7 separate regions of the Homo sapiens genome follow, and regions 1, 2, 3, 5, 6 and 7 are each linked to region 4. Evidence: promoter capture Hi-C in 16 types of primary human blood cells and fetal thymus (Javierre and others, 2016). All regions are on one chromosome and are shown on one strand. Each heading gives the region's core, a stretch centred on a gene start or on the middle of the fragment in contact. The rest is flanking DNA. Distances are from core to core; before and after follow the strand shown. Region 1 overlaps IBTK (inhibitor of Bruton tyrosine kinase). Region 2 has its middle 3.1 kb from the start of SYNCRIP. Region 3 has its middle 14 kb from the start of SNX14. Region 4 holds the start of CEP162 (centrosomal protein 162). Region 5 overlaps SNX14 (sorting nexin 14). Region 6 has its middle 3.9 kb from the start of IBTK. Region 7 has its middle 6.7 kb from the start of SNORD50A.

Region 1 (4,010 bases), core at 688-3,187, 2.0 Mb before region 4:
GACGGAGTCTCGCTCTGTCACCCAGGCTGGAGTGCAGTGGCGCCATCTCGGTTCACTGCAAGCTCTGCCTCCCGGGTTCACGCTATTCTCCTGCCTCAGCCTCCCGAGTAGCTGGGACTACAGGTGCCCGCCACCACGCCTGGCTAATTTTTTATATTTTTGGTAGAGATGGGGTTTCACTGTGTTAGCCAGGATGGTCTCGATCTCCTGACCTCGTGATCTGCCCGCCTCAGCCTCCCAAAGTGCTGGGATTACAGGTATGAGCCACTGCGCCCAGCCTAAAACCCCTGAATTTTTAAATAAGAACTGAGCATGGATTTTCGCTTTTAATTATCTGGAATATATAATACTAACATTAATAATCTCTGTCTCATGGTAGTTAATTAATTTGGTACTGTATAATATAGAATCAGCCCCTTTTCAATAACAAATGGGGCTCTCTATATAACTGGTACTCAATTAATATTCCCATACTTGCTTTCTCTTCCCTGACTGAAATTTATACTGATTTCTTTCCTTCAAACCTACCCACTGTGCTTGCTTCACCCTCATTCTGTGGTAAATAAAATCCCTTAGATCCTTAATACCTTCACAAAACACGCCCACTGCCTTGCCTTACCTGAAATGTGGCTTTCTCTTTGAGTACACTAGTTCACTCACAACCCTGGCAAATGGAATATGCTCAAATATTCCAAACTATATATTTCTTTGGATCAGACATTTCAATCACCCTCTGATTTCCTAATGCCATCATGATTCCCTCACTCTTGTCTTTAAAATCCCTGCTCCGTAACAGCTCATGAAATAAAGGTATATCATGTACTACCTCAAAAAAGGAAAAACAGGTGTCTTTCTTGTGCCACAATTCCAATCAATCATTAGTGGCTGCTAATGGTTGGATTATCATTTTAAGGAGGAGTCTGAGGACCCACTCAAGCTCAGCATGAGAAAAAAAAAACTGACTAGCATGTCTGCAAAAAGCTCTAGACTAGGTGAGCAGCTTGTACACTTGCTGCCCCTGCTCTGATTTCTCACCATCTTGCTCACCCCTCTCACATTCACTAAAGACTTGGACACCAAGCTTGATTCTCGCCCATCACAAGTCCTTTCATTATCCTAAGTTCCCTCCACATCTACAGAGAAGACCCACAAGAATATTAGCTTTCATGACACCATTCTACTCCCTACTTCTCTAGCCACTTTTCATTCCTATATGGGTTTTTATTCCTGTTCTCTCAAAATTTAATATTCTCTAGAGTTTAAGGATTCTATTGCTTTTTTTGTTCAATTGCTGGTTGTGATGCATTAGGTTGTGACTTTTAGTTTAAAAAATAGTGTTCTATGGAGCCCTAAATATAGTGGTCATATTATTTATCATGCAAACATTTTTGAGAATGAAAGGGGATACTAACAATTACACTAGGAAAATAATCATAAACCAGAACTGTCCTGGGCAAACTAGGGATATGTTGTCAAAGTAGCTCTAAAAACTGTCTAAGAATTCAATCTCAGGATATAAACTAAGTGTTGTTATGTATGTCATATATAAATAATAGGTGAAAGTTGGAAAGAGCCAGTACTATAGTGATAAAAACACTCCAAGCTCATATTCTGGATCAAAGAAGTTTTATGAACTTCAAAATGCAGAAAGAATATAACTAGGAAGTTGTAGGAAATGTAAGTTGAAATGGTAATTTAGGAAGACTGAAAAAGTTCTTACATTCCAAGCCACAGAGTTTGGACTTTATCCAAAGGTGACTTAGTAGATAAACACATAATTAGCTCTTTTTTAAGACAAATAATTCTGGAGAAGAATATTATTGGGGTTGAAATGAATGGAGCCAAAAAGTCAAATTAGGACACTGTTGTCACTGTCCAAAAAAAGAGCTTGAAAAGGACATGGCACCTAGGTTCATGAGACAGAAAAGAACTAAATAGACATGCTCTGAGGTATCATCTTCAGGATTTAGAATTTGAGATTTATAACATTAAAAATTGAATAGGGTAGTTTAGGAGTGGCAAAAATAACACTTCAGACATTCTAAATTTAAATATCTTGAAAGAATACCCACAGTACAACTGAAATAAAGTTCAAGAGAAAGACTGGGGCTAGAGATACACATACATACACACATATACACAATGTAATACAGAAAGATTTGTCAACAGTAGCTGTATCTGGGGAAGTAGAAGATATCATGCATTGTAAGGATATAAGACCACAGACCAAATCTTTACAATTGTATCTATTAAAATTTTACAATTACTTACATTTAAGAACTCAGGTTCACAAAAAGCATCACTCGTGCCTAAGCATCTAAGGGCAAATTTTTGAACCCCACACTTCCAAAACATTGCTTATCTGTCTCCATAAGTGATGAAATTTTAGTTCTATCTACTATCCAAACTGAGAACTGAGACTTAGACATTTAATTATTTATTGCTTGTCAGTGTGAATACAAATAATTAAATAGAATGACTGGCAGTTTACCAGACCCTCAGTTAAAAAACTCTATAGCCTTTCCAGACTGCTGTCATCCAACTTCACATAAGATTAAACATATTCTCTTCATGATAAATAGCTTGGAACCTAAAAACATTATTTTGTTACAAAAAATTGCAAGAAGTGTGTTGTTTTCTAAATTGAAATTATTTTATTTTTTAATGCCACCAAAAAAAAAAGAACTGTTGTTCACTTATCAAAAATAACACTGAGCTTCAACAACAAATTCACTTGAGAAACAGCTTACAGAATTGTAATGTTTGTTAAATAGAAAAGCTAGAAAATCAAGAGAAGCTTTACCCTCTTAAATTAAACTACTATCTGTATAACATTTTCTAATTTCTAACACTAATTGCACAAATATCTTATATTTTAGGGTATTTTACAAAGTCTAAATATAATTAAGGCTAACAATATCTAAAATAAAATTAGCAAAGTTCTATTGATTGATTTCCTCATTAAAATGTTACTGTACCTGAAACAAAGTTATGTAATCCACATGAAAAGCTGAACAATCAAATACAAAAGTTCTTTCTCATCTCTAAAAGTATATAGATTGTACTTCAAAAATACCTGCTTGATATAAATCCCACTCCTGGAGAACAGATCCACCAACTCTGGATGATGTTTGCTATTCTGGCTTCCATGACCCAGGGTAAAATTTGTATTATCGCCCCAAGTATAAACATCTGTAGGATCTAAAATAAAAATTAGTTTTTATACTTTTTTATATTTTAAAACACATATAAGAACTAATTTAACTACAATATTTAGAAAGATGCCAACGCTCTTCTCTGAATGAATATATTAATATGATATTAGGTAATTCTAGAAATAGAAAATCCAAATCATAGTACAGGCCTGTCTCAATGCAAGCAATCAAACATTTGTTCCTTGCTTCTTTTTTTTTTGTTGTTGTTTTTTTTTAATAATTGAGACAAGGTCTCATTATGTTGCCCAGACTGGTCTTCACCTCACGGGCTCAAGTGATCCTCCCACCTCGGCCCCCCAAAGTGCTAGGATTACAGGCATAAGCCACTCTGCCCAGGCTGTTTCTTGTTTCTTTAGCAGCTAAAGTTTAACTGCCAAATGAGTAAAACACCACCGGCCATATCTACTTAGTTTCCATGAAAATAATATATAGAACTGTATCAAATGTAAGATATTATTAATCCACACATACAAAGGTTCTAAATGTTGCAAATGTGATATTACTCTTTGTACAGGAACACTAACTTTCAATACTTTGTTTTTCATAGACACAAAATCACACTAGTGATTAGGGTAAAGCCCATTAAACTGGAATACAAATCACAGCTAAGTTCATGATATAAATCTTCATTTTTATTTTAGAAGATGAATAAAGTCTTAGAATGGAATTATCACTGTTAACCTGCAATGCAGTATCCAGGGTAGAAATAGAAATACAGAATGTGTCCTTACTCAGCTTGCTTACTAGTTAAATGCAAACTATACAGTGCCCCAATTAAATCTTTTCTTTTCTGCC
Region 2 (3,579 bases), core at 106-2,605, 1.4 Mb after region 4:
AGCGAAACCGCCCGGTGGTGAAGGGTTGTGCAATACTCCGTTTCAGTCCCTGGCCTTTTAAGCAGTTAAGGGCTTCCTCCTGGCACAGTTTGAGCAACTTGAAACAGCACAAAGCTGCGTGGTTAGAACAACTTTGAGAAAAATGTCTGTGTTTCTTTTAAAAAAAACCTTGGCAACTAAATCTTCTGTGAAATGACGTTTCCTTTATAATCGTTTACTAGGTACAAGAAAGACAAGACAAAGGCATTTGAATTACAGACGCGATATGGATACTAATTTTATCCAGGGCAGCTGTAATGAAAAATAGAAACAATGTCCTTTTGATTAAAAAGCTTATTTTTAAGAGCTTACTGGTTCCCCAGATGAGCTCTGTGCTATGATAACAAATCAGTGGTTTGAGGAAAAGTTAGATAAACACTCTTCAAAGTGCACAAGCACATAAAATGCTAGATTATTTTCATAGCTACTTGGATCAGATATGAAGTATGTTTTAGCCAAAGCACCACATAGCCAACCTGTTTAGTAAGGATTTGAGATCTCCACCACCCCAGATTCCTTACTATCAAACATATGTGATATTCAGCTGCTTCAGCCATAGGGATTTTTGTTCACAATGCAGAGGTCGTGGTTAATGATATACATGAAAAACAAAATGTTTAATAGAAAACTATGAAAATAAGAGTCATACCATGGATTAAACAAGAATAAAAATTGGCCGGGCGCGGTGGCTCACGCCTGTAATCCCAGCACTTTGGAAGGCCGAGGCGGGCGGATCACAAGGTCAGGAGATCGAGACCATCCTGGCTAACACGGTGAAACCCCGTCTCTACTAAAAATACAAAAAAATTAGCCAGGCGTGGTGGCGGGCGCCTGTAGTCCCAGCTACCCTGGAGGCTGAGGCAGGAGAATGGCGTTAACCCGGGAGGCGGAGCTTGCAGTGAGCGGAGATCGCGCCACTGCACTCCAGCCAGGACGACAGAGCGAGACTCCGTCTCAAAAAAAAAAAGAATAAAAATGAGTCTGAAACATGTAACACTTTGTTTAGACCTTCCTGGGTATTAAAAAAAATTTTTTAAAGTGCCTTAACCTGGGCAAAGCTCCCAAATTAAAATCTCTAGCTGTTCTCTGACATCTAATTCCTTTCTCTAGCCACGCCCTCAATGTTTATGTGGGCTTTCTGGCACTCCAGATGGGCATTTCAAGAAACTGAGCACGTGATCTTCCCCCAGTCTTCCGTCTACAGAGTTCCCATCTCAATTAACATCCCCCACATGAATTGCTGGAGCGGATCATTCAAGGCACTTCCTTCTCTACACTGCCATATCAGTTAATCAAGTCCTATCAATTCTGTCTCCCAAATATATCTCCATTTATCTCTATGTTGCAACCACCCAGGCAAAGCCACCATCATCTACCACCTGTACTAATGGCATAGCCTCCTGATTCATCCACTCTTACAGCTGTCCTAATCTGTTCAAAGCCCAAGTCATCTGTCTTTCTGTATGACTCTCTGTCTCCTGTGTAGGCTCTCTCCCTCCCTTGACCTTCTCTATCTTAATTGCAAGTAAGATCCTATGGCGTGTCTGCTTAAAACCCTTCATTAGCTTCCAATTACACTTAGAACAACAGCCAAAATCCTTAACTAGATCAACAAAGCTCTCTAAGATCTGTCCCACCTGTCTCCCCAGCTCATCTCAGCCACTTTATGGCTTCAGCCTGGCCTTCCCTTGATTCTGGCATTTCTTTTTATTTGAGACGGAGTCTCGCACTGTCGCCCGGGCTGGAATGCAGTACGTGATCTCGGCTCACTGCAACCTCCGCCTCCCAGGTTCAAGTGATTCTCCTTGCCTCAGCCTCCCAAATACCTGGGATTACAGGCGCCCGCCACCATGGCCGGCTAATTCTTTTGTATTTTTAGTAGAGTTGGGAGTTTCACTATGTTTGCCAGGCTGGTCTCGAACTCCTGACCTCATGATCAGCCCGCCTCAGCCTCCCAAAGTGCTGGGATTACAGGCGTGAGCCACTGCGCCAGGGCTCGTTTTTTGGTTTTTTGTTTTTGAGACGGAGTCTCACACTGTTGCCCGGGCTGGAGTGCAGTGGCGGGATCTCAGCACACTGCAACCTCCACCTCCTGGATTCAAGCGAGTCTCCTGCCTCAGCCTCACGAGTAGCTGGGATTACAAGCACCCACCACCACACCAAGCTAATTTTTGTGTTTTTAGTAGAGACAGAGTTTCACCATGTTGGCCAGGCTGGTCTCGAACTCCTGACCTCAGGTAATCCACCCTCCTCGGCCTCCCAAAGTGCTGGGATTACAGGCGTGACCCACTGCTCCCGACAGAGTATTCATTAGTTTCATTGCTGTCTTTTCGTCCATGTAAGCTTTGAAACAGTGAGAAGATGCAGCCCTGTTGAGTTGGCAACTAATGAAAGAGAGGAATGTAGGCAGGCCTGTTTGGATTTTTTACTTATCCAAAATTCTTCCACCCAGTCAATGCCACACTGCCACACTGTTTTTTGTTTGTTTGTTTGTTTTGTTTTGTTTTTTGCATATTTTCTTCTCTTCTTTACTGCATTTTCTAAACTTCCTGCCATTAACATATATTAATTTTATAATGGGCCAGGGAACCCTTCAATTCACAGGGTAAAAATTCACAGCACACCATTACTTTTTCCATAGAACCATAAAAAGCTAGTGTTGAAAGAGACCATGGAAGCCATTCAACCTAATCTTTCTAGTAATCAAGAAAATTTTTGCACTATCTCTCACATCTTTTTTTTTGAGATGGAGTCTTGCTCTGTTGCCCAGGCTAGAGTACGGTGGTGCAATCTCGGCTCACTGCAAGCTCCGCCTCCCAGGTTCACGCCATTCTCCTGCCTCAGCCTCCGGAGTAGCTGGGACTACAGGTGCCCGCCACCACGCCCAGCTAATTTTTTTGTATTTTTAGTAGAGACGGGGTTTCACCGTGTTAGCCAGGATGGTCTCAATCTCCTGACCTCATGATCCGCCCGTCGCAGCCTCCCAAAGTGCTGGGATTATAGGCGTGAGCCACCGCGCCCGGCGGCACTATCTCTCACATCTTATTTTCATAGTAATAAAAAGCCTGCCCTATCAAAAATTAAAAACTTTTGTTCCAAGAAAGACACTGTCTAGAGAATGAAAAGACAAGCCGCAGACTAGGGAAAAAAAATAATCTTTGCAAAACACATATCTGATAAAAGGCTGTTATTCAATAAAATATACAAAGAATTCTTAAAACTCAACAATAAGAAAACACACAACCTAATTGAAAAATTGGCAAAAACGTTGATATCAAGTGTTAGGCAAATAAAAAACAAAAAAAAAATGTTTTGTTTTTTTTGTTTTGTTTTGTTTTGTTTTGAGAAGGAGTCTTGCTCTGTCACCCAGGCTGGCATGCAGTGGCATAATCTTGGCTCACTGCAACCTCCACCTCCTGGGTTCAAGCAATTCTCGTGCCTCAGCCTCCTGAGTAGCTGGGATTACAGGCTTCTGCCACCAGGTCTGGCTAATTTTTGTATTTTCAGTAGAGACAGAGTTTCACCATTTTGGACAGGCTG
Region 3 (3,786 bases), core at 1,011-3,510, 1.4 Mb after region 4:
CAGCACAAATTAAACTACACATCAGCATAAAGGAAAACTGATCCACTGGATTCTGTTAAGTTCACTGCTAAAGATGACTTATGAGCACCCTTTTCCTCTTAATTTCAAATAAGGAAAACAGTCACTTACACATAGGGTTATTTTAACATATAAAAAAATCTGTAAGTCACTAGGCCAACTGTTCCCTCAACTTAAGACAATTTTATAATTTTTTAAAGTGTCACGTTGATAATTTAAATGTGGATCTTCATCTTAATTTACTTAAATCATTAGCACTTTGTGATCATTTTTAAAAGCTTTCCATGCCATAAATTAAATGGTTCGAAATATTTGATCCCCTTTGTCAAATTCTCATGTCACAAGCCTAATTTGGCAAATAAAACTAAACTTCCACCCAACTGAACATTTTAAATATTTTTAAATGCCTGCCTACTCAGATTTCCCTGCCCTTCGAGGAGCTTCCATTCTAAAAGGAGGTAAAATAAATCAAAGAAATTTATCATAAAATGTACTAGTAATTTAAAGACTAATCGATAGACAGTAAGCAAAAAAGGGAAAAATAATACTAACTACAGTATCTGCTTGCTGTGCCCCTTTGTTGATCCTCTCCCAAATGCTAAATAAATCTCCAGGAAACCAGAGATCAACTAGGATCTGTTACATGACAATTTTACAATAAAGGCTGTCTTTTAATTCCATGTTTAACTGTACCTGTAGTTAGGCAGGAAACCAAAAGGGAACAGAACCTGTCTTTAATACTGTTGAAGAACTCCTAAGAACTTAATTTCTGCAAATTCATGTGAATTTTTACTATTTCAAGGAAAACAGCAAAGGAGGTAGAGGTATGAATGAAATTTGCCAAAACTACACTGTATACATGTGGCTCTAGAGTGGAAATGAAAAGTGTATTCTGCCATTTTTATAGATGACCTTTAACATTGTTTATTTCTGGTTTTCCTCTAAGTATATTCCAAATATTAAATAAAACTGAGAAATACAATTTGTACATATGCTTTTCTAATTTTTCATGACGTGTTAAACTAAAAGCAACTGGAGGCCTAATTCCTGAGTCTTCCAATTAAAGCAACCAATTAACATAAATACTGACATATTAAAGATATTCTCTTAAAAATGATGTCATAAGGGTTTTAGTATACAGATGCACCTAGCTTTAGCAAATTTGTGTTTAAATGATGCAGTACTCATGTAACACAAATGCCATGTTATTCACATTTCAACTTAAAGTTAACACTATTAACGAGCCATAACAGGTATGCTGGAACTCTTCTTGTATATCATGGTGTTTCTATAATTACAAGACCTAATTTTACCATATGGAACCTACAAAACTCTTTAACAAATTTCTTATTGTCAGCAAGCCCTGGTCTTATTCTTTAATCTGTGGTAACAACTTGTCCACACCAAATACTTTGCCCTTCTGCCCTGAAAACTCAAAAACTGCACATCAAAAATGATATAAAACGCCAAATCCCTTAGGTTTCCTAAAATTCTCTCCAAAACAAGTTGAGTTTGTCACAACAATCTCCTTTTCAGAATACAGCTGAAAGCCTAAAAGAAGGCAAGAAATGACAATTCATAAACATTACAGATAACCTTTATAACTCCTTTCTAGATTAGAACCTGTTGTAAGCCACTTTATAGACAAAGTAGAAAATCAGACAGTCAATTAAGTTTACAGTATATTATCCTAAAATAACCTTATTTTGATCCCACTGTGTTAGAAACCCATTTTAGGAAGCTGTAACACTTGGAGACACTAATTTCCAAAATGGTTTATTAGGACTTCTCCCACACTCAAAGTCAAACTTCCAGGACTGTTCTGAAATGATGAAAGCTTCTTTTCGATAATCAATATAAATGTTGTTAATCCAAAATAGAAACTAAAACCTGCACTAAGTGACCTAAAAAGTCTTGTCCTGATGGAAGTGGCCAAAACTGCTCGTCCCGCAACCAAGAAATCCTAGGGGTATAAGCTAAAACCCACAAATATATTGGCAAGTCCCCGATTCTTTCCAAATTACCACTAACTTTATCAAATCCAATGGCAAGTACGGGACAACAGAATATTTCCATCAAAAATTAAGACCAGCCTAATACATTTATTCTATTCATCTTCCAGTAATGTGATTGCAACTGAGGATATCTTGAGGAATTTTTCACCATTGGCTAGTTACTTCGAATGTATGGATAATCAAAGGGCGACAGACCTCTAAAGATTCCAAGTGTCTACTTAAAAGCTGTTAAGTGAAGAGTGATGAATTGGAGGACACCCACAATAATTCTTGGACTCCTGGAGATCCTAAGACATGCTACAAAAATAGGTCTTTATTCTTAGGAAAATATAGTCAGAGCTAGCTTCCTTATGCTATACATAAAATCTTAACATCAGAGGCAGTACAGATAGTACAGATAGTTTTTGAACTGATCTCCAAACAAGCACAAACCCACTACGTTGAAAAGAACAGGTAATTTGAGGTTTTTGGCAAAAGACAGTACTTCACACATCTAATCCAAATCAAAGGGCCTGCAGACAGTTTTCAGTGAGATGAAAGGAATGAAATAAATATAAATTCTACGGATAAATAAAACACAATTTAAATAAGCTAACAGAACTAATTTTTTTAAATAAAAATACTAGTCAGGTACAAGCTTTTGTTTCTCAATGCCAGACTTCTAAATATTTACCAGACTACTGTTAATATTAAAAACCTAATCTTTGACCCAGAGCGTTAGTAATAATACTGGTTTGCATCTGCAAATTTTCAAACTGAATGCTTCTGGTCCTGAAAAATATTTTAGGTGTATTACTGAAGGCAGACTGTGGTGCTAATAGAATTTAAGTCTTAAATACTTTTAAAAAGTGACAGACCCCAAAAGTCCATCTACTAATTTGCTAGTTAAAAAATGCCTGTGAGCACTGCTTCATAATTAGCATCTTAAGAAAAGTAGTGGCATGCCCTATTGAGTGGTATCATCACTGAGTAATTAATACACCTTAAAACAATATCCCCACAAGTCTGTTTCTTTTATGTATTTGTCACTTAATTTCTTTAGTCATTAATTTTACACCCACCAGTGAATTCCTATGGCCAGATGAAAATTTTGTGGTATACATAATTAGAGAGAAAATGATCATGGTGGGTATTCCTGTAAGTTTGACGAACTTGAGAAGTTTTAGCACCCTCCCCTAAATGCATGAAGCCCTTCTATTTAATTTCTCTCCTTAAAATAGAGACTACGTAAAATACTCTGTAATAATAAGGGATCTTTTGCTGTTTCTGACAACTTTTGGCTTCGCAGTCAAAAAAGCTGTTCTGAATGTGTCAATTTTTGCCTATCTAGCTTGATGTTCATTCTATTCTTTAAAAACTTTTATATACAATAACTCAGATCACCCCATCAATCCATTTCTATGTTGTTCCTATTTTATCATGAGGAAACTTTACATTTTAAGTCAGATTCACAGTAACTGGTAGAAAAGTTTCTTAAGCTAAAAACTGCAATCATGAGTGTACAACAGTTGTGTGTGTGCACACTCAATTTTCCCTTCATTTTTAACATCTGATTCAGTGGCAATGGCTGAAAACCTTCCACAAAAAGCATGCTTGGGAGAATATATCTAACAAAATTTTCTCACAAAGCAACTTTCTGAAAACTGATAACCTAAATTTATGATCACTTTTGATTGCCAAGTAGTCTGCAGAAACAAAATCTTGCGTCTGTTTTGGTTAGATAACTTAAGTTTTCTTTTTAACATCAGAATGC
Region 4 (4,071 bases), core at 1,182-3,681:
CATAGGAGCATCATAGAGTATATTTACACAAACCTAGATGGCTCCATGGTATAGCCTACTCCACACCTAGGCTATATGGTATAGCTTATTGCTCCTAGGTTACAAAGCTGTTCAGCATGTACTGTACTGAATCCTGCAGGCAACTGTAACACAATGGCAAGCATTTCTGTATCTAAACATAGAAAAGTAAACATATGGTACAAAAGATTAAAAAGATACACCTTTATAGGGCAGCCCCATTATAATCTTACGGAACCATTGTTGTATATGTGGTCTGTTGCTGACCAAACCATCTTTATGAGGTGCATGACTGTACACAGAACGTGGTATAACCATTTAATATACTCATTCAAATATTTATTAAGTATTTATTAGGTACTGTAGACATAGTAGTGAACATGTTGATATATAATAGCAATGAACGTAGAGTCATCACATTACAGACCATACATTCTTATAATGGGAAGCAGAAAACAGACCCATACAAGAAAAATAATTAATGTGCTAAGTGCTATAAAAAGAATTAAATACATACCAGATTAAGAAGTGACTTTGTGTTTACCTTTTACTGGATAAACAGAAGAAGCCTCTCTGAAGTGGTGATATTTAAGTTAAGATTTTCACCAGCCAGGTAAAGAGTAAGGGAGGAGCATTATTGGCAGAGGGAACAGTGAGTGCAAAGCTCCTAAGGTGAAATGAGCTTGCAATGTCTGGGAAAGAAAAAAGGCCACTGTGGAATAAATAAAGTGGGTGAAAGAGGGATATGAAGGCAGTGAGATATGTAAGAGTGAAATCATGAAAGGCTTTAAAACCATGGTAAGGAGGAGTTGTTTGTTTTTTTTTTTCTACATGTGATGGGAGACCAATAGAGTCTTTTACTGGGGAGGAACAGAGTCTGACTGCAGTGTGGTGAAAGGAATGCTGGACCATGAGTTGAGAACTGCTGCCATAGCCCAGTTGAGATGATGGCACTGAACTAGCAGTGGCAGAAAAGGGACAGGGCTAGAGGGATGATGGGAATTCAGAGTTTGGTGATGGACTAACTGTATCTTCGAGATGACAGAATTGAAGGATGAGTCTTTTGAGACAAATTTGACAATATAGCTTTTAAAAATATAAACTTACCTCTTTCATAAACTGTTCAAACTCTTCATCTAGCTCTTCTTGGGAACAGTTAGCCATAGTCAACAATTTTGACCTCCCAAAGTAAACATTCTAAAGTACCTCAAACATTGGAAACACTAAATGACAAGAGACATAAACATCTTTTGAGGAAATCCATCAGATCATGAACACGACCAGACTTAAACTTCGGACATTTGTTATGATTCAGTATATATGCACAATTTTTTTTAACCAGTAAGAGCTGGTCAAGAGATTCCTAATTCATTAAGCAAACTGATTTGGAAAAGCAGCTTTGACAGGATGTCTTGTACTCAACGTTCAGAATTATGTTTTCATCTGTTAACATCCAATTGTTAAAGAGTGGTCTCTACAATATTTCCCAAACCTATGTTTGTGTGCATGTGTTAATTAGTACCTCTCAAACACAAACCAGGTCCTCACAGGGAATCTTAAAAACTGTAAGTTAGCAAATCCAAAGGACTGTTTCTTTCTTGCAAAGCACACGACAGTTTGTGCTGCCTTATCACTCGGCTCGTTATTTTACCAATCCATAGTAATAGTTTCGTAAAGCAGACTGCATAGTTTCGTAAAGCAGACTGTATCCAGATACGGGGATGTTTCAAAATATACACAAATAGAATTTAGTAAGAATTAGTAATTTAGTCAAAATACTTAAAGAATACTTAAAGTTAATGGAGTACACAAATCAGTACTATGTTTCTTTTGAAGCGAGGGAAGACCGACAAAAATTATGTGCTGAACACAAGCAGAATCCAGTGATTTGCAACGGAAAGCGTTCCCCTAGACACCTAATGAACCCAACCTTGGGTCGACCCCCAGCTCCTGAACTCCCTAGAGCAGCTCAAATCCCAGCTTTCTTCTGTAGAGATGGGGGAGGGGAAGAGGGCTTGCAGACCCGGACAATACCCTCCCCATCGTGCAGAGTAACACCTCTTCCCCTCATTTGCACTTTCGATCAGTTCAGGGTAAGTGCGGTTAAGGTCTTGGCCTGAATAGCTTGGTCAGGGGTGAGCTCCACTAAAAGCTTCTCAAGCCTGGCTGCGACCCCGTCCCCAGAAGCGCGGGTTCGGGAATTGGAGGGAAGACAAAGACGCATTTGCCGTGGGCTCCGGGCGGAGAAGGGGAATGACCTGGAAAATTAAAGCCCTTCGCTCGAGTATGAAGCACGGCCTCGACCAGGGCGATTTGGGTGGGAAACCAGCGTTCACACCTTACCACCTACCTCTGCCTCTGAATTCCGCGCTTTCCCGGAAGGTCTGTGCGGGTCCACCAGTTGTCAGGGTAACAGACTTCAGCTGCCGGGTTCTGGAGTCACATGACCCGGGCTGGTCACGTGGGCCGTGGGTTTCCCAATGCCTTTACAAGCGAAGGTCGGAATAACCACGGCTGAGAAAGACACTCTAGTGGCTAAACCTTCGCTGCTGCAGTAAAATGCCTTTCCTTCCCTGGCTTTCTCTACGTTCCTTAGAAAAGGGGACAGCGGCAAACCGGTTACTGGAGAAGCGAGACGGAGGCTTCCAGCAGGCTTGGAGGGCGCGGTGGTTGTAGGCCAGCCCGTGGCTTTCTGGGAAATGTAGTTTAGCTCCCCTGGTCCTTGTGTTTCCGCACTCCGCATCGTCGCCTCCCGCCTTCCCCACACTTGTCATTCGAGCGCTCTGTTTTTCCAAGGGGCAATTTTGAAGAGATTGAATTTCTTGGATTTCTTTGGCCTGCAAAGACCTGTGTAGGCATTGTGAGAGAAACACAAACCTGTGAGGAAAAAAACTGTCGTTTAGATGGGGACTCTGTTCCACCACCTAGTGGGCAAGAAATCGAAAATACGCAAACAGCAAGATTCTTATTAAGTTATTGCTCCTCCCGCTACCCCTACTTTTCAAAACTGCATTCTTTACTGGCATTTCACAATTACTGACTTGGATTTTGTTTTCTATTTCTTTTCTTTTTTTCAAAGCATGCAACATTAGCTGGAGTTTCAGAGGACAACATTTAGCATAGTGTAAGTAAAATCTACAACAGCTGCAGGTTTTGCTGATGGTAGACTTAGTTCAGGACCTCATCTTTAGCTAGAACTGTTTATTCATCAAGTCTTTCTTGCAATACAAATATGTACAAACCAGGAGCTGTGGACTATGATGCAAATATGAATAATAAAAGAAATATCTTAAGCTACCATTTATTGAGAAGTTGACTTCCTGCCACCTTCTATCAAAGACTTACCTTCCCACATATGATCTAGAGCCTTTACCCATTCTTCTTCTCACTGATCTTGTTCCACTGGTCATTTCCCTTAATCCTGTATCTTCGACTTCTGGCTGGCTGTGGGATTTTTCCTAACAGCATTTGAACATGCCTTGAGATCCCCACCTAAAACATCACTTCTGACACATTCTCTTCATGCTATTATTTCCCAGTGGTTGAAATGATCTGTCTCCTCACCTTACTTGCCAATCTTTTCTGAGGAATTATTTCCACTTTACCTCCCTTTTGTCAGACCTTTTAATCCTGTCTCTGTGTGTGTAAGTGTACATATATGACAGCGCTTTATTTGATCTCCCAATACTATTTGATACACTTGTCTCCTCTCTTTCTTGGTTTTTCTTTCACATTTATAGCCTCCCCTCAAGGGTTTTCACTGTCTCTGTCTATCCTAGCTGACCTCTAAATGTTAGAATTTCTTTTCTTTTCTTCTTTTTCTTTTTTTCTTTTCTTTCTTTCTTTTTTTTTAATTTCTATTTTTTTGAGACGGAGTCTTGCTCTGTCACCCAGGCTGGAGTACAATAGTGCGATCTCGGCTCACTGCAACCTCCACCTCCTGGGTTCAACTGATTCTCCTGCCTCAGCCTCCCGAGTAACTGGGATTACAGGTGCCCACCACCACACCTGGCTAATTTTGTGTTTTTAGTAGAGACAGAGTTTCACCATGTT
Region 5 (3,754 bases), core at 1,209-3,708, 1.4 Mb after region 4:
TAGTACTTATTTTGTATATGTATTATATACTGTATTCTTACAATGATGTAAGCTAGAGAAAACAACATGCTATTAAGAATATCATAAGGAAGAGAAAATATATTTACTATTAAGTGGAAGTGGATTATCACAAAGGTCTTCATCTTCATTGTCTTCACACTGGGTAGGCTGAAGAGGAGGGGTTGGTCTTGCTGTCTGAGGAATTGCAGGGGTGAAAGAGGTAGAAGGGGATGCAGAAGTGGCAGGCACACTCGACTTTATAGAAGTACATCATGATTTCTGCCCGACTTTTTGCCGTTTCATTTCTCTAAAAACATTTTTATATAGTACTGATCTTTCTTCTACCATTTGCTTTAGATTCAGTGCCAGTATCAAAGAAGGGTCCATGTGATAAAAGAAGTGAAAAGCAGTCTTGATAATTGAAAACCTTCTGCCATATTGTCTACTGTCAATTTGTGTTCTGGCACCACTTTTTTTTTTTTTTTTTTTTTGAGATAGAGTCTCACTCTGTCATCCCAGCTGGAGTGCAGTGGTGCCATCATGGCTCACTGCATCCCAGGCTCAACTGATCTTCCCCACCTCAGCCCCCCATGTAGCTGGGACTACAGACGTGTACCTCCACATCCAGCTAAATTTTTTGTATTTTTTGTAGAGACAGGGTTTCACCGTGTTACCCAGGCTTGAACTCCTGGGCTCAAGTGAGCCATCCACCTTGGCCTCCCAAAATGCTGGCATTACAGGCATGAGCCACTGCATTTGGCCCCTGGCACTGTTTCTTCAAAGTCTTCTTCCTCACTGTCTAGCACTGGTTCCAAAGCACTCATCTTTATCAAGTTATATTATGTTAATTCCTCTGGTGTGATGTCTACTGGCTCTTGAATTTCTGTAAGATCCTTATGCTGAAAGACCTTTTTTGTCATATCCACAATCTCTTTCATGATTTCCTTGATTGGCTCTGGTGTAAATCCTGTGAGGTCACGCACAACACCTGGGCATAGTTTCTCCACTAGTAATTTATTGTTTCAAGTCTGATGGCTTTTACGGCTTTTTCTATAACAATGACTGCATCTTCAATGGTGTAATCCTTCCAAACTTTCATGATGTTCTCTCTATTGGAGTTCTCTTCCACAGCACTGACAATCCTTTCCATAGAGTACCATGTGTAATGCCTTAAAGTTCTTTATGAACCCCTGGATTTAGAGGCTGAATTAGAGACATTATGTCTGGGGACAAGTAGACCACTTCCACAGCTTCGATGTTGAACTCATGGGGTTCTGGGTGGCCAGGGGCATAGTCCAGTATCAAAAGAATTTTTAAAGGCAATCCCTGCTGGCAAGGTACTTTCTGACTTCAGGGACAAAGCATCAATGAAATTAATCCAGAAAGAATGATTCTTGTTGTCCAGGCCTCCTTATACAACCACAAGACTAGCAGCTGGTACTTATCTTTTTCCTTCAAAGCTCGGGGGTTAGACACTTCATAGACAAGGAACCCAACTGCATATCCATAAAATAGAAGAATTTGCGTACACCTTCCTGCCTTAAATCCTGGTGCTCATTTCTCTTCCTTACTAATAAATGTCCTTTGTGACATTTTTTCCAAAACAGGTCACTTTCATCAGCATTAAAAGCTTGTTCAGGGCTGCTCTGCCTATGGTGTAGCCATTCTTTTATTCTTTTGCTTTCTTAATAAACTTGCTTTTACAAAAAAACACCCACTCAGGAAGATATATTTAATACTTTCTCCTCAATGATTTTCTGAATGGTGTTTGGGAACTCATCTTCTGCCTGTTGGTCAGCAGAGGCTTTTTCTCCGGTTCTCTTGACATTTTTTAAGCCAGATCTCTTCCTAAAATTATCAAACTATCCTTTGCTGGCATTAAATTACCCAGTTTTAGATCCTTCTCCTTCCTTCTGCTTTAAGCTGTTATACAATGACTTCACTTGTTTTTGAATAGCATTAGTTTATATGTATGCCTTTCTCATAGCAATTCTGCCCCCACATAAAAGCTAAATTTTCAATAAAACATGAAAAGGTACTTTGCAAAAAGTACGAAGTTTTCACACCTGCTGGCATAGCTGCAGCAACAGCTTCATGAATTTCCTTTTCTTTTTTCACAATGGTCCTTACACTCAATTTATTTATCTTGAAATGGCAGGCAATCACAGCTGCAAACCTCAATCCATAGTACATACCAAGCATTTCACTTTTTCTGTAATGTCATTACTTTTCTCTGCTTCTTGGGAGTACTCCCAGTATCATTAGTGGTACTTTGTATGGATCCCATGGTATTCCACTCGGATTTCTGACTTCATAGGGGTCAGTGGCCCTAATCTCTGCACTGTTCAAGGATCAACTTCATATAAAATTATTTTTTATTTCAGAATAGATGTACCTAGTATACCCCATCTCAGAAGGGCCCATGTTTTCTTGTATAACAACATTTCAGAGATACTCTTATCATCTGTGTGTGTGTGTGTGTACGTGAATACACACATAAGTTTTTTTTTTTTTAATCACACATATACACTGAAAAGCATGCTACATACACCATCTGGCACCTTCCAAAAGATTTTTCCTGGAAAAGGGATACATAATCATGGTTTTATTCAAGACAGTTCTAGTGTTTAAAATCACTTTTGCTGACTACAGCAGTAACAAATGGAAAACACCAAAACATATGCAAAAACAGCTTCACTCATAAACCCAACCACTCAGGTAACATTTACCTGTATTTCCTACCTTCTCTGCATAAAAGAAATACAGGGTACAGGTTAGATGGTATACAGATCAGATGGCATCCTATGACTTTTTAATAACACACAACACTAAATGTTATGACCATAAGTAGATGACCTCAGAAATCTAGTTTAACCTGCTCCTACTAGATGGCTCTCCTACCTTAGAAACCTAAACTGACCCAGTTCCCAAAAGAGGTAGGTAAGAATCCATGGACAAAAGTTAATCATATGGGCTGCGTGCAGTCGCTCACGCCTGTAATCCCAGCACTTTGGGAGGCTGAGGTAGGTGGATCACTTGAGATCAGGAGTTCGAGACCAGCCTGGCCAACATGGTGAAACCCCCGTCTCTATTAAAAATGTAAAAAAAGTAGCCGGGCATGGTGGTGCCCACCTGTAGTCCCAGCTATTCTGCAGGCTGAGGCATGAGAATCACTTGAACCTGGAAGGTGGCTGTTGCAGTGAGCCGAGACCGCATCACTGCACTCCAGCCTGGGCAAGAGAGTGAGACTCCGTCTCAAAAATAAAAATAAAAATAAAAATCATATGAAGCTTACATTTCTTTCATACTAAACCTGTTAGTCTAGCTTGGAATACCTTCCAGATGACAGAAAGCAAATAATAATTAGTGTTCCCTCTGTTAAGGATCCCACTTCTCCCACACTCCTACAGTTCAAACATCTCACCATCACAGAGCACACTTCTCAGTAAAACATCAACTACTATTTAAGCTCAATAATATTTAAACCAAGAATCAACAAGAAAGCAAGGCCACTTTTAGGGAAGAAATCTAACTTCAACATAGTCACAAATAATGGTTACACCAGAGAAAAATGAAGTTACCAAATTCCTTGCGCATTCCTCCCTGTTGCTATCCTTGGGAATCAACTACCTTAAGATAAAGAGTAAGAATGGTTGCCTGTTCAAAACATCAGAGAAAACAGCTTGCGGATGCTGTCAATGAGAACTATCTCAGATTTCTTTCCACCAAAAGCAAATCTGGTGTTAATTTTAAT
Region 6 (3,690 bases), core at 172-2,671, 2.0 Mb before region 4:
GAGATCAAGGCTGCAGTGAGTCAAGATCACGCCGCTGCAACGAGTCAAGATAACGCCACTGCACTCCAGCCTAGGCAACCGGAGTGAGATCCTGTCTCAAAAAATAGTAATAAATAAAAGTTAAAATTACCAGGTCTCGGACAATTTGTGGTAAGCATTGGGGATCCAACAGTGAACAAAAATACATGTAGACCCAGATATTCCCAAGCATAATAAATTGCAACGTTTATAAGTATTAATCTGATAGATTTATCTGACTTCCAAAAGATGTGACACATGAACTAAAGACTGAGCAGAAGATAACTCAGATAACTAGATAACGAGGAGATAAGTAGATGAAGCAGGAAAGAAATAACATTCCAGTCAAAGGAATGTAGAATTGCTCCCCTTTTCCCAGGAAAGTTAGATGCTTTCAAAAGTACTTACTGGTTATTTGCAAGACAAAATATTAAAATAATTAGGAAATAGTACAAATGAAATACAATTAAATGAAAAATATATTGTAGATGTGGTTAAGGGAGGAAGAAATCAAAATGAGCCATTTTGTTTGATTTTTAAAAAAATTTTGTGTTTACACATGAAAGAATAGGTCAAAATATATCTACAATGATTGTTTCTATGGTGGGATTATGGGTGATTCTTAATTTCTATCATTTTGACTTTTGTAATTTTCATTGCAATAATTTAAATATTACTTGAATGATTAAAAAAATCAAAGTTTGGAAAAATAATTGACTAGAGTTTCTAAAGTAGTTTTATTTTTTAAAGTAAAAAATAAAAAAACCAGAGATGACTTTAAAAGATTGCAGTGATGGGCCAGGCACAGTGGCTCATGCCTGTAATCCCAGGAGGCCGAGGCAGGCAGATCACGAGGTCAGCAGATCGAGACCATCCTGGCTAACACGGTGAAACCCCATCTCTACTAAAGAATACAAAAAAAATTAGCCGGGCGCAGTGGCGGGCACCTGTAGTCCCAGCTACTCGGGAGGCTGAGGCAGGAGAATGGCGTGAACCTGGGAGGTGGAGATTGCAGTGGGCCAAGATAGCGCCACTGCACTCCGGCCTGGGTGAAAGAGCGAGACTCTGTCTCAATAAATAAATAAATAAATAAAAAGATTGCAGTGATGGGCGGAGGGAGTAGAAAAAGAATAGTACAGGCATCAAGAGTGGAGCACTGCAGAAATATTTCTAAGCCACATGGCATCTATAATAAACTCCCTAAATACCATTTTTCCAAAATAAATTGGTAGTACTATCCTTTATAATTAAAAGTACTGACATCATTATGTGTATTTTGCTGTCTTTCAAGTTGTATAGGAGTAGGAAATGACAGTGCTGGTGGCAGAAGAGAAAACACTAGAATTTGATTAGAAACCCAAACCTGATTAGGTTCTACAAGAATGATTTTTAGAGGAAGATCAATAGTGCAGCTGGCCTAGAGATGACTGGAACCTTATTGTTTAGCCTCATTCTCTTCTACTCCACACCATCTTCTACAGGACATCACTGGTTGACTACAACTTTCTGGCACACAAATTAAGTACCTCACATAAATCACATATCTCACCTCAGGTTTGCCATTAGGGAAGATAGCACTGAGCCTATTATCTCAAGCACAAAAGTTCTAGGCACCTGACGGACTCATGTCGGCTTGGATTAGGTGAGGAATCAAGGATAACATGATTGACATCCTCTATTAGAGTCATGGTTAAAGCAGAGTGAAGAGTAGTTCCCCAAAAGAAAGCAGGGTGAGGCAGACAAAACAATAGGCCACATAGGGTGTTTGTGTTCTTCTGGATTCAGGTGTATGGTCCCAGCTGCGTTCTTCCTATAGAATCATTATCTTTCCAATCCTTACTTACAGAGGGTCACCTCCCCACATATCTGTGAAGACTTTCCGGATGGCCTTTCCTAGCAATTATTCCCTTTATACTGCTTCTATCACTTAGTCATATAATGTATCACACTGTTTTATTTTTAGATTTGTTAGTTTTACTCCTGGAGACAAGGATTCTAGAGGCAAGGTGCCCAGATATAAAGTTTTACTCCTATGCTTACTATCTGTGAGATGTCAGGCAAGTTACATAAACCCTCTAAGCCTAGTTTCCTCATCTCTGAAATAGGGTTAATAGTATTGCTTTCATAAAGTTCTTAAGAAGTTTAAATGAGATTTTATATATATATATAATATAATGTATATATTATATATATGAAGCTCTTAGTACAACTCTTAGCAACTTAATTGACATAACCTGAAATGAACTGCCTGGATGAATCTGTTTCCACCAAATTAAAGGGTGGGATGGGGAAACAAAGAATAACCCACAAGGTGGCAGTATTTGAATGTAACTTTAGAATCTTATGTTTAAAAGCATAGTCCACCAAAAAAATCTGAAATTCAAGGCAAATACTGGAGAAATTCAAGGTAAATTCAAAGCCTAGATGAAATAAGCAGAACTTTGAGATAAATCAAACTTATAAACTTAACAGGCTTAGTATTCTATTACAATCAGAACACTGAACTCCTAAAAGTCTTCCCTTTACGATGACTGAAAAATGTATCATTTGCCTTTCTCAGCCCATCTTACTGAGAATTGCTCCTATTCCTTTTCTACTTAGCTAAATAATTAAATCTGTGTTGTCACTATTAGAAAGAGAGAGAGAGAAGAAAGAAAAAGAGTGAGTTTGATACATAGTGGTTGGAGCCTTCTCTTCATGCCATAAATCCCTAGGACTGATAGAAAAGACATACTTAGGCCGGGTGTGGGGGCTCACACCTGTAATCCTAGCATTTTGGGAGGCCAAGGCAGGCAGATCACCTAAGGTCAGGAGTTTGAGACCAGCCTGGCCAACATGGTACAACCCCATCTCTATTAAAAATACAAAAATTAGCCGGGCATGGTGGCAGACACCTATAATCCCAGCTACTCGGGAGGTTGAGGCAGGAGAATCACTTCAACCAGGGAGATGGAGGTTGCAATGAGCCAAGATCACACCACTGTACTGCAGCCTGGGCGACAAGAGCAAAACTCTGTCTCAAAAAAAAAAAAAAGAAAAGAAAACATACTTAACATACTTAAACTTATCAGTGCATTGGAAAACAAGAACCTTGGCCATTGAAGGTCCAGAACTTATGAAGAGTCCTTGAAAAGTGGATAAGAGGCTAGATTGGGAAAAAGTAACAGCCTGTGGTGTTGTGATATATATATAGGTTTTCATCCACAGCTCTTGGCTCATAACTCCCATAGCCCTTGTTACAGTCATTTGTTATAAAGTTGGGTATGTTAGACCTCAGGAACAGGCCTCTGACCTTCTCCTGCCCTTCTTCCATAGTTTCCGCACCTTTCTGACTCTGGGTCTTAAGACCCTCCCACGAGAGAGTCCCACCCTATACCCTGCGGGAAGGAATGCTGATGTCCTGAAGCTTCCATAAAAATCCAAGAGGACAGAGTTCATGAGCTTCCAGATAGGTGAACACATGGAAATTCCTGGAGGGTGGCACACACAGGGAGGGCATGGAAACTCCACGTCCCTTCCCTCATACCTCACCCTACGCGTCTCTTCATCTGTATCCTTTGCAATATCCTTTTTAATAAACCAGTAGGCCAGGCGCAGTGGCTCACGTCTGTAATCCCAGCACTTTGGGAGGCCGAGGCAGGCGGATCACCTGATGTCGGGAGTTCGAGACCA
Region 7 (3,774 bases), core at 442-2,941, 1.4 Mb after region 4:
ATATCTCATAAATTCATTTTTTAAAACAATATTGAATGAGAATCCAACTGGGATGCAAACATTGAGAATGTTGATATATCTTTTCAGTTTCTTGATTTGTAGGTTACCCATTCATCTCGTTTGGTTGGTTTCTTTCCTTGCAATTTATTTGTTATAGAAATCATTTGTAGAGTTTTCCATAGTCTGGATTTTGCTGATTGTATCTTTGTAATGTAGTTTAACATATGTCTTTGTAATCTATAAATTAGTAATTATATCCAGAGGCTTTATCAAATTCATATTCATTTTTGTTGTTTTCAGACAAGAGTCTGAAATAGGCAGAGGCAAATTCTTTCTTCAGGGACATATAATATCTTATCACCTCTTTTTTGGATGTTAGCAGTCATTGATATTTATTGCCTATACATTAATTCATTAGAATGTTGCAAAATGATGATCTTCTAATTATGCCAATCTTTTTTCATTGTTAACTGGAATATATCAATAAAGACAAACTTTTTATCACCTTTTATTTGGTTATGTCAGTACAGTTGGTATTGGAAAGTCCCTTTATTTGCAGTTCTGAAACTGATGATTAGCATCCTTTAACACTTATATTAAATTCAGTTTTTTAAAGTATCATTCTGAATTCATAGATTTGAAGACATGTCTTTTTCTCTATTTTTTCTCTATTACACCTCAATAATAGTCAAATTTTCTATCTTTGGAAAGTGAGAGACTCTCCAAGTTTACTCCTGAGTTCCTTTTTTTTTTGAGATGGATCTCCCTCTGTCACCCAGGCTGGAGTGCAGTGGCGAGATCTCAGCTCACTGCAACCTCCGCTTCCCGGGTTCAAGCAATTCTCCTGTCTCAGCCTCCTGAGTAGCTGGGATTACAGGCACCCGTCGCCATGCCCAGCTAATTTTTGTATTTTTAGTAGAGATGGGGTTTCACCACGTTGGCCAGGCTGGTCTCAAACTCCTGACCTGAAGTGATCTGCCTGTTTTGTAATCCTTGCTGGGATTACAGGCGTGAGCCACCGTGCTTGGCCTCCTGAGTTCTTCTAACACAACTCCAGCAGTCTTGCTACCTGTTATAGCAACGTACAACAAGCTCATCTTGTACATTTCCTGTCTCAGATCTGTTTCCTTTTAGTGGTAAGTGGTATTTAGAGGCCACAATCTGGGCCCTAGGGGTAGGGTTCATAGATTTTGATGTGTATGAATCATACTTGGAGTTTCTGTGTTTTCTTTCACAGTGGTTCCCATTTGACTAAGAATGAAATCCTTTCAATGACCCATTAAGCCCTACATAAGCTGCAGGCCTTGCTTCCTTTCTCACTATGCATGCTCCTTCCTATGGGCCACTGCTATGGAAATGCCCTTTTCCCAGATATATGCACAGATCAATCTCTCACCCTCTGTTAGGTGAGAGATTGAGCTATGCACATATCTAAATCTCTGCTTAATTAATCTCAACTTTTCATTGAAGCCTATTCTGTCAACCCCATTTACTTCAATTGCCTCTCAGATGAGAGAATCCCCATTTGAAACTGCAACACTAATTATCTCCCCAAACCCACTCCCAATGTCTCATATTCTATTTTTTCTGTGTCATTTCTCATTTTTTAACATAGCTTATAATTTATTTATTATATAATGTCCTTCTCCTCTTCCTACAATGTAAGCTCCACAAGGGCAGAGGTTTTTGTTTGGTTCACTACTGTATCTTTAGTGCCTAGGATAGTACCTATACATGGTAGGCATTCAGGATATTTGCTCAATGAACAAATGAATGCAAACCTTGGTATATTTCTGAATCATCACACACTTAGTCTATCAGTATGGTTCAATCTCCTGAGGAACAGATTGAATTGAAAGCAAGCAATATCCTTCAAGAAAGTGAGCTACATCAATATGTGGGGACAAGTCCATGAATTTCAAAACTATCCTGACGTTTCTGGGCATGAGGCCAAACTCAGAACAATGTTTGTGTCCCTCCCTCCCTCCTTCCCTCCTTCCCTCTCTTCCTTCCTTTCTCTTTTTCTCTCCCTTCCTCCCTTTCTCTCTCTCTCTCTTTCTTTCTCTTGAGATGGGGTCTTGCTGTGCCTAGGCTGGTCTTCAACTCCTGGGCTCAAGCGATTCTCCTGCCTCAGCCTCCGGAGTAGCTGGGATTACAGGTGTGTACCATCAAGCCAGACTAATTTTTGTATTTTTAGTAGAGATGGGGTTTCACCATGTTGGCCAAGCTGGTCTTGAACTCCTGACCTCAAGTGATAATGCCCGCCTTGGCCTCCCAAAGTGCTGGGATTACAGGCGTGTGCCACCACGCCCGGCTGCTTTTTTTCTTTTTTTTAAGGGCTAGTCAGTGTACATTCACTTTCGAAAAAGAAATGTAACATAAACTCAGAATCTCCATCAGCAATGAAATTCAAGTCAGAATTACGATGTATCTCAAGGAGTACACCTTACTATTGCTCCAGAGTAGTTTACTGTGTTTAATGCTTTATGTTCTCATTGAAGCAATTAAACTAATCAACTATTAGCAACAATTCCCAAACTGTACTTTTGTTATTTATTTTGTTTTTTGAGACGGAGTCTTGCTCTGTCACCCAGGCTGGAGTCCAGTGGCACAATCTTGGCTCACTGCAACATCTGCCTCCTGGGTTCAAGCAATTCTCCTGCTTCAGCCTCCCAAGTAGCTGGGATTACAGGTGCGTGCCACCACACCCGACTAATTTTTGTGTTTTTAGTAGAGACGGGGTTTCACCATGTTGGCCAAGTTGGTCTCGAACTCCTGACCTCAAGTGATCTGCCCACCTTGGCCTCCCAAAGTGCTGGGATTACAGGTGTGAACCACCGTGCCCGGCCTTAATCAACTACTTTTATACAAAAGTACAGGTTAGGGCCGGGTGCGGTGGCTCACGCCTGTAATCCCAACACTTTGGGAGCCTGAGGTGGGCAGATCACGAGGTCAAGAGATCAAGACCATCCTGGCCAACATGGTGAAACCCTGTCTCTACTAAAAATACAAAAATTAGTTGGGCGTAGTGGCATGCGCCTGTAGTCCCAGCTACTCAGGAGGCTGAGGCAGGAGAATCACTTGAACCCGGGAGGCAGAGGTTGCAGTGAGCTGAGATGGCACCACTGCACTCCAGCCTGGCGACAGAGCACGACTCTGTCTTAAAAAAAAAAAAAAAAGTGGTTGATTAAAATTATTTGGTATAGGTGTGGCCACTCACATCAATAATCCCAGCTACTCAGGAGGCTGAGGCAGGAAGACCACTTGAGGTCTGGAGTTCAAGACCAGCTTGGGCTACACAGTGAGCTCTCATTTCACTGCTTAAAAAAAAAAAAAAAAGCATCTTGGTGAGGAGACTCACATTTGTAATCTCAGCACTTTTGGAGGCCAAGGTGGAAGGATCACTTGAGGTCAGGAGTTTAAGAGCAGCCTGGGAAACATAGTGACACCCCATCCCTATAAAAAGTAATACAAATCAGCTGAGCTTGGTGGCACATGCTAGAGGATCTCCTGGTTATTTGGGAGGCTGAGTGGGAGGATCCCTTGAGCCCAAGAGTTCAAGGTGGCAGTGAGCTATGATTAGGCCACTGCATTCCAGCCTGGGTGACAGAGTGAGAACCTGTCTCTAAAATAATTAATGATGATAATAATAATGATGTTATTTGGCCTATATTTTTGTTACTGCTCATATCCATATTTTTAATGTACTCAATGTGTTTTTATTGATGGTATGGCCTTCAGTTATGAAAAATATGGATATAAGCATAATAAAGA

The links. Contacts are between HindIII fragments. The CHiCAGO score rates a contact against its expected background, and 5 or more counts as called.
Region 1: a fragment that was not itself captured here is called in contact with the fragment with the promoter of CEP162 in region 4 in 1 of 17 cell types (total CD4 T cells); the score reaches 6.0 in total CD4 T cells.
Region 2: a contact is called between a fragment that was not itself captured here and the fragment with the promoter of CEP162 in region 4, in 3 of 17 cell types (naive CD8 T cells, fetal thymus and naive CD4 T cells). The highest score is 9.7, in naive CD8 T cells.
Region 3: a fragment that was not itself captured here is called in contact with the fragment with the promoter of CEP162 in region 4 in 1 of 17 cell types (naive CD8 T cells); the score reaches 5.9 in naive CD8 T cells.
Region 5: a contact is called between a fragment that was not itself captured here and the fragment with the promoter of CEP162 in region 4, in 2 of 17 cell types (naive CD8 T cells and fetal thymus). The highest score is 7.2, in naive CD8 T cells.
Region 6: a fragment that was not itself captured here is called in contact with the fragment with the promoter of CEP162 in region 4 in 2 of 17 cell types (total CD4 T cells and non-activated CD4 T cells); the score reaches 6.0 in total CD4 T cells.
Region 7: a fragment that was not itself captured here is called in contact with the fragment with the promoter of CEP162 in region 4 in 1 of 17 cell types (non-activated CD4 T cells); the score reaches 5.2 in non-activated CD4 T cells.

The regions. Positions count from the first base shown.
Region 1 is chr6:82,228,642-82,232,651 of GRCh38, forward strand. It overlaps IBTK (inhibitor of Bruton tyrosine kinase), which reads right to left. Exons shown (of 29, transcript NM_015525.4): 4 at 3,077-3,201. Among named protein-coding and RNA genes, the nearest start is that of IBTK, 17 kb to the right of the region's middle. The HindIII fragment of the contact is 1,716 bases long and covers 1,080-2,795 here.
Region 2 is chr6:85,644,183-85,647,761 of GRCh38, forward strand. No RefSeq gene overlaps it. Among named protein-coding and RNA genes, the nearest start is that of SYNCRIP, 3.1 kb to the left of the region's middle. The HindIII fragment of the contact is 2,050 bases long and covers 331-2,380 here.
Region 3 is chr6:85,606,006-85,609,791 of GRCh38, forward strand. It overlaps a transcript of SYNCRIP not described here. Among named protein-coding and RNA genes, the nearest start is that of SNX14, 14 kb to the left of the region's middle. The HindIII fragment of the contact is 815 bases long and covers 1,854-2,668 here.
Region 4 is chr6:84,225,212-84,229,282 of GRCh38, forward strand. It overlaps CEP162 (centrosomal protein 162), which reads right to left and starts at 2,432. Exons shown (of 27, transcript NM_014895.4): 1 at 2,369-2,432; 2 at 1,126-1,241. The coding sequence starts at 1,182. RefSeq lists enhancers at 1,845-2,345, 2,346-2,846, 2,748-2,907. The HindIII fragment of the contact is 5,497 bases long and covers 2,169-4,071 here.
Region 5 is chr6:85,588,756-85,592,509 of GRCh38, forward strand. The region is part of intron 1 of SNX14 (sorting nexin 14); the gene reads right to left. Among named protein-coding and RNA genes, the nearest start is that of SNX14, 3.2 kb to the right of the region's middle. RefSeq lists an enhancer at 3,594-3,754. The HindIII fragment of the contact is 1,660 bases long and covers 1,629-3,288 here.
Region 6 is chr6:82,249,800-82,253,489 of GRCh38, forward strand. No RefSeq gene overlaps it. Among named protein-coding and RNA genes, the nearest start is that of IBTK, 3.9 kb to the left of the region's middle. The HindIII fragment of the contact is 4,001 bases long and covers 1-3,422 here.
Region 7 is chr6:85,668,804-85,672,577 of GRCh38, forward strand. No RefSeq gene overlaps it. Among named protein-coding and RNA genes, the nearest start is that of SNORD50A, 6.7 kb to the right of the region's middle. RefSeq lists an enhancer at 407-928 and a silencer at 3,194-3,394. The HindIII fragment of the contact is 8,939 bases long and covers 1-3,774 here.